Regions from separate parts of the Homo sapiens genome. Here region 2 is linked to region 1. The links are contacts of gene promoters, found by promoter capture Hi-C in blood cells and fetal thymus (Javierre and others, 2016). All regions are on one chromosome and are shown on one strand. The core of a region is centred on a gene start or on the middle of the fragment in contact, and the rest is flanking DNA. Distances in the headings are between cores, read along the strand shown.

What was found. The method cuts DNA at HindIII sites, captures the fragments that hold promoters and counts their contacts. A CHiCAGO score of 5 or more calls a contact.
Region 2: a contact is called between a fragment that was not itself captured here and the fragment with the promoter of ANKRD61 in region 1, in 2 of 17 cell types (M1 macrophages and endothelial precursors). The highest score is 6.1, in M1 macrophages.

The regions. Positions count from the first base shown.
Region 1 is chr7:6,029,700-6,033,564 of GRCh38, reverse strand. ANKRD61 (ankyrin repeat domain 61) reads right to left here and starts at 2,189. Exons shown (of 3, transcript NM_001271700.2): 1 at 1,974-2,189; 2 at 629-726. The coding sequence starts at 2,189. All of the region lies in intron 11 of EIF2AK1 (eukaryotic translation initiation factor 2 alpha kinase 1), which reads left to right. The HindIII fragment of the contact is 4,913 bases long and covers 981-3,865 here.
Region 2 is chr7:6,144,285-6,147,637 of GRCh38, reverse strand. USP42 (ubiquitin specific peptidase 42) reads right to left here. Exons shown (of 18, transcript NM_032172.3): 10 at 1,982-2,122; 11 at 1,390-1,490. Among named protein-coding and RNA genes, the nearest start is that of USP42, 41 kb to the right of the region's middle. The HindIII fragment of the contact is 3,832 bases long and covers 1-3,353 here.

The DNA of each region.
Region 1 (3,865 bases), core at 940-3,439:
ATTTTATTTTTCACACCTAACTTTGGTGGTTAAACTTATTGAAGGCCATGGCAAGGACTTTACTGCATTCCTCACAACACCACCATTGAGCTCTTAATCCTCAGAATGTGCATTAATTTGGCAAAATATTTATGATGTTGCATTTTTCTCAGTTTTTCAGAGTATCTCATCTACTCAGTAAAGACATTGGTTCATTCATAAGAACGAACAAGTCCAAACATAAGTGGAAAAAATGTATGAACTGAAAAAAAAATCTATATCAGGTATATCCTCACTTAGAAATGATTGTCAGTGAAGCTGGGTGCTGTGGCTGAGGGCTGTTAATCCCAGCACTTTGGGAGGCCGAGGCAGGTGGATCACTTGAGGCCAGGAGTTCAAGACCAGCCTGGCCAACATGGTGAAACCCTGTCTCTACTAAAAATACAAATGTTAGCTGGGCATGGTGACGCACACCTGTAATCCCAGCTACTCGGGAGGCTGAGGTGGGAGAAGCTCTTGAACCCAGGAAGTAGAGGTTGCAGTGAGGCGAGATTGTGCCATTGCACTCCAGCCTGGGCAACAGAGCGAGACCCCTGCCTCAAAACAAAAAAGAAAAAAAAAGAAATGATTTTCGGTGGAGTTAACTTACCTGACTTCTGGGTCAGCACCGTGCCGTAACAGGCAGAGCAGACTCTGGGCCTTGTGGTACTTGGCAGCCAGATGGATGGGGATGATAGACTCTGTCGGCTTTGGAGGGAAAACAAAACACATTACAAGTGGCCCTGTGTAGTTAAAAATACTGTTTGTGTTAGCTTGCCGTTTCAAAGGCAATACATTTATTTAGTGTCTCATTGGCTCACTCTTTTTCTGGTATGTGCATTGAAAGTTTCCTTTCTACTACCTGTTTTAAATGATCAAAATTCAGTGAATTCCATCCTATAAAATCTGTGTTTCACAGAAATGCACATTTACTGAGGCAACAGAAATAACACTCAAAAGCTTTGGAAATTTTTGAAAGTTGATTCTTCAGAAGAGCCTGTGGTGTGATATTAAGGGTACTTGCTATGAAGTCACTTATTCCTTAAATTAACCCACAGGGTGATGGACAAGTAGGTGCTGTGTCGTTGCCAAAGTCGTATTATCAGCAGTAAAACCTGAATCTTCAGGGTTTTCAAATATAACGCAGCATATGTTCTGTCTATGATTAGCAGAGCTGTTTGTGCCAGCTCTTAAAATACACACGTGTAAGTAGTGGTTTCACACCGTGGCTGCAAGATAAGACAGTAGGGTACAAGGGAGGGTGACTTCCTTTTTGAATTTAATTGTAAAAGTAATAATCATTGTATAAAAATTTAGAAAATGAAAATGTATATATTAAAAAGGGAAAAACTATTTTTTGTTTGTTTGTTTGAGATGGAGTCTTGCTCTGTCATCCAGGCTAGAGAGTGCAGTGGTACGATCTTGGCTCACTGCAACCTCTGCCTCCTGGGTTCAAGCAATTCTCCTGCCTCAGCCGTCCGAGTAGCTGAGATTACAGGCTCCTGCCACCAAGCCCGGCTAATTTTTGTATTTTTAGTAGAGACGGGGTTTTGCCCTGCTGGCCAGGCTGGTCTCGAACTCCTGACCTCAGGTGATCCACCCACCTCAGCCTTCCAAAGTGCTGGGATTACAGGCATGAGCTACTGCGTCTGGCCAAAAAAGGGAAAAACTAATTTGACCACATGGAGATCATCACTGTGGGTATGTTTGAGAGATGACATGAATGGTCTTCCAGTCACACAGGGTCTGGTGTTTTCTCATGTTGGTTTGTGTGTGACATGTGTAGGGGAGGCTTTGCAGGCTTTGGGGAGCACTGCAGTGTGTGTGGAGTGAGCTGGAGTCGTGTCTCATTCTCATAAGGGCCGTGAGCTTAGTGGGTTCACCAGCTTTAGATCATGCTTCTTTCTAAGCAGCCTGACTTTTTTCCAGAAGTGACTGAGCAGAAAAGAGGGTACCTGGGTCAGAAGTAATCTGTTGCTGGCGGAGTTGGGCAGAATGGTGATGGGCTGGTTGACAGGGTGATTTCTCAGGAGTACCTCGATCGTAGTGCAGTCTTCTCTCATGATGGCTTCATAGAGTTTCGAGTGAAGTGCTGCAGATGGGCCATCTTCCAGGGACTTGGCACTGTCAACCACCAGGTCTCTGCTTCCTTTCCTGGTTATATTCCCCATGAGAAAAACTTAAGACTTCAGGGGAAAATGTTGTTATGGAATTGGTCAGTTTCAGTCTCTTTGTGATGATTCTTTCAGTTCAGTTCTAGAACTGTTCTAGAATTTGTCGAGAATTGGATCTGTGAAGGCAATCCATCAGTTTGGAACCAAGCGTCCAGACTTTGTTCCTTGATCATAGAATGTCAAATGTCAGCAGTTTTTAGGGTTTTCTACTCTATCATAAAAACATATTCAAGCTATCATCTTACACCTTTATTTCTGATTTCTCTCCAGTTCAAGTGTAGCTGAAACAATGATCAAAGCTAAAACAGAGGAATTTATACATTAAAATACAAAGTTAAAATTATTACTTTTAAAGTAAGAAAACTTTTAACCTTAAGTTATTTTTTAGTTTTTATTATAATAGAATCTTCCCTCTCCCCATTATGGGTTCAGTTTTTCTCCGGCATAGGAATAGTTTGGGAGATGTTTTGGGTCTGTACTCTTTGCTTAAATAAAGCCATTTAGTGTGATCTATTAGTTCCCAACCCTGGCTAATACATATGAGTTATCTGGGAGCTTTTAAAAAATATCAAAGTTGGCTGGGTGCGGTCGCTCATGCCTGTAATCCCAGCACTTTGAGAGGCCAGGGCGGGCAGAACATGAGGTCAAGAGATCAAGACCATACTGGCCAACATGGTGAAACCCTGTCGCTACTAAAAATACAAAAAGTAGCTGGCTGTGGTGGCGTGCGCCTGTAGTCCCAGCTACTCAGGAGGTTGAGGCAGGAGAATTGTTTGAACCTGAGAGGTGGAGGTTACAGTGAGCCGAGATGGCACCACTGCACTCCAGCCTGGCGACACAGCAAGACTCTGTCTTAAAGAAAAAAATCAGTTTTTTCGTAGTGCGAGAAACATGCTCACCCGTCCAAACCCAAAGAGTGAACTTAGAGGCACAAAGAACAGTGAAAGTGAGACTTTTAATAGCCCTCTTGCAAGGTCACGTGTCTGGTAGGCAGGTACACCCAGGGCAGTTACAACAGGTGATTTATCTCCTAGCATGCAAGACCCTACCTCAGTTCCTCACTGGTCAAGGACTACAGGGTTACGATCTTCCCGGACGTCGCCTAAGTTGCATTATCCCCTTAGAAGGTTATACCCTGGTCCCTTTCCCGCTTAAGTTTGGATTTCCCAGTAATGAAACTTTCTTCCCTTTTATGGGCTGACTCCTCTACATCCTGTTCACTTATTGTGATCTTCCAGGTGGATGAGCCATGTGGTTTGTTACATTTGCAGGCTGGCTGCCGGTGCTTAGATTTATCATGCCTTGAAAAAGCCATTTAAAATGTTTTCTCACACATAGAAAATCACGTCTCTGGACTCGACAGGACAGTCGTTTCTTTTCTTTTCTTTTTTTTGAGACAGAGTCTCACTCTGTTTCCCAGGCTGGAGTGCAGTGATGCGATCTCGTCTCACTGCAACCTCTGCCTCCCAGGTTCAAGCAATTCTGCCTCAGCCTCCCGAGTAGCTGGGATTACAGGCATGCACCACCACACCTGGCTAATTTTTGTATTTTTAGTAGAGATGGGGTTTCACCATGTTGGCCAGCCTGGTCTTGAACTCCTGACCTCAGGCGATTTGCCCGCCTCAGCCTCCTAAAGTGCTGAGATTACAGGTGTGAGCCACCGTGCCCGGCCG
Region 2 (3,353 bases), core at 230-2,729, 110 kb before region 1:
ATGAAAAAAATAGCATGTTTATGCTACACAGTATGGAGCTATACACATCCCCTCCTTCAGGCTAATGTCAGGCACTCAGATCAGGAGACAACAAGGATAACTGGGTAAATGACGTTCTTTAAACTGTGTTTTCTGAAGATGCTGTTTCATCTGAAAGGTATTTCTTTTCTGTTTATTTATATTTTCCTTTTTTTGAGACAGGGTCTTGCTGCGTCGCCCAGGCTGGACTGCAGAGGAACAGCCATTGCTCACTGTGGCCTTGCCCTCCTGCCTCAGCCTCCTGAGTAGCTGGGACCACAGACATGCACCACCACGCCTGGCTCATTTTTTTATTTTCTGTAGAAATGGGGTCTCGCTTTGTTGCCCAGGCTTATATTTTTCTAATTATAAATATATGCCACTGTGGAAAATCTAGTGTCCAAAAAAGTTAGAAACAAAATCCTACCCCTCAACTTGGCCTGAGGCCTCCTCTGATCATCATCTGTGCTTCAGCCCAACTGCCGAAATCCAATGCCAGTGTTTAATATTTCAATGTGCAGACATGAGCATTCTGCCAGTTGGACATTTGAGAATATTCTTGATTTTCAGCTATCAAACATTTTTTCCAAAAATGGAGCGAGTGAGTGAGTGAAAAGCGTATGCAGCCACAACAGGACAGAGCTGGGTGCGGGTGCTGGCCTTGGCCTGGAAGGCAACTGACCTGTGCTCCAGGTTGGGAGGTGCTGGCTGTGACCACGCCAGGTGCTCAGAGGTCCCTTCCTGAGGTCTCCACTCATTGTCCTGTGGCTCCTGGCCCACTCCATTACTGCCCGCAGCAGAAGCCCACCCTTGTCAGCCACCACCTCTCCCTGCAGCTGCACCTTCAGTGCTCATGGCCACAGAGTGCGATGCGGAGCAAACTCATCATCCCGCTCAGACACTACCTTTCTTACTCTCCAGGCACATGGCAGAGTTGATGGTTTTTGGTTTTTTTTTGAGACAGTCTTGCTCTGTCACTCAGGCTGGAATGCAGTGGCTCAATCATGGCTTACTGCAGCCTCGGCCTCCCCAGGCTCAGGTAATCCTCCCACCTCAACTTTCGGAGCAGATAAGACCACAGGCCCACAACACCACACCTGGCTAATTTTTTCGTATTTTGTAGACATGTGGTCTCACTATGTTGCCCAGGCTGGTCGGTCTCGAACTCCTGGGCTCAAGTGATCCTTCCATCTTGGCCGCCCAAAGTGCTAGGATTATAGGCGTGAGGCACCATGCCCAGGCTAGAGTTGATCTTTAAGCTGCTGGGTTTTTTTTTTTTTTTAAAACACTGAATATTGAATTCAAACATGTTGATAAGACAAGAAGAAATGACATACCAGAAAATCTGGCAATTTGTTTTCATGACAATACCTGATATAAAAGAGCACATAGGCTTGTTGGCTGAGTACCGATCTAATATCACTGGTAGATACAATGGAGTCATTCATTTGATACCAGAGGCCATTGCTAGCCTATAAATGAGAGCCAATAAAAGAGAGAGATTAGATTTAATTAAACATGGAACATAGTCAAGAGAAATATTTCTTTCTTTTTTTTTGAGATGGAGTCTCACTCTGTCACCCAGGCTGGAGTGCAGTGGCGTGATCTTGCAATCTCCACCTCCTGGGTTCAAGCGATTCTCCTGCCTCAGCCTCCGGAGCTGCTGGGATTACTGGCAGGTGCCACCACACGCAGATAATTTTTGTATTTTTAATAGAGGCGGGGTTTCACCCTGTTGGCCAGGTTGGTCTTGAACTCCTGACCTCAAGTGATCCCCCAGCCTCAGTCTCCCAAAGTGTAGGGATTACAGGAGTAAGCCACTGCGCCCGGCCAAGAGAAATATTTTTACCTCGGGTATTCACATTTTAACTGTAAAAGTTCCACCTCTCCCTACCCCAAGAATGCTACTGCTGTCTTATAGCATGTATGTAACAATAGTTAATAGCAAATCTGCACAGCTTACTTTTATGTAGCAGAAGTAATGGCCAGCATGGCAATTAAAACCAGTGTGGACCAGCACTGCATACAAGACGTAGACAATTGGCTCTCCGTTGGGTTGAGACATATATGGCCGAATATCAAGATACTCAGGGTATTTCACATCCTAGAAGGAAATGGAAACAGGAGAAACATTTCCGAGGGCACAGATCATTCCACATATTCAGGTAGAGGGTACTTAGAGCTTCCTAGGAGGGGAGACCCACAGAACACCTGAGCCCTGTGATATTCTAGCAAAAACCTAATGCATTTAAAAAACCTAGTGCATTTAGCCATCTTTTTTTTTTTTTTGAGATGGCGTGCCACTCTATCACCCAGGCTGGAGTGCAGTGACACGATCTCAGCTCACTGGAAGCTCCGCCTCCCGGGTTCAAGTGATTGTCCTGCCTCAGCCTCCCGAGTAGCCGGGATTACAGGTGCGCCACCACGCCCAGCTAATTTTTGTATTTTTAGTAGAGACAGGGGTTTCACCATCTTGGCTAGGCTGGTCTTGAACGCCTGACCTCGTGATCCACCCAGCTTGGCCTCCCAAAGTGCTAGAATTATAGGCATGAGCCACTGCACCTGGCCTAGCCACCTTTCAAAGGGCATGGTTAACCGGGAGGATAGCGGAATCTAAGTGTATTTAAGGCCATCCTGCTGCATTTATTATTTTCTTTTAACAAGTCAGGATCTATATTAAGTGAATTCTTCAAACCCATCAAAGGACAGACTAACAAAATGACAACTCTGAACATAATTTTTTTTTTTTTGAGACAGAATCTGACTCTGTTGCCCAGGCTGGAGTGCAGTGGCACAATCTCGGCTCACTGCAACCTCTGCCTCCTAGGTTCAAGCGATTCTCCTGCCTCAGCCTCCCGAGTAGCTAGGATTACAAGTGCCTGCCACCACACCCAGCTAATTTTAGTATTTTTAGTAGAAACAGGGCTTTGCCACGTTCGCCAGAGTGGTCTCAAACTCCCGGCTTGAAGTGATATGCCCAACTAGGCCTTCTAAAGTGCTGGGATTACGGGCGTGAGCCACCACACTCGGCCGATTATTTAATTTTAATAATTCAGGAATGGATCGTTTATTTCTCTTGCATGCTATTTAGTTTTTGACCACTTTCAATCTTCAGAAAGTGGGAAGAAAATGGGAAAATTCAGTGTACTACCAATCAGAAAACAAACAAACAAGACAAAATGAACTTTGGTGAAAACTGGCAAAGTCTAGCAGGAAGTCCTCTTTGGATTTCAGATTATACAGGCTCTCCCTGTATCCCCTCACAACCACGGGTACCAACAAAACAGACAATGAAGCCCAAATGTAGGTAATAGTTAGCAATTTTGTCATGAGAA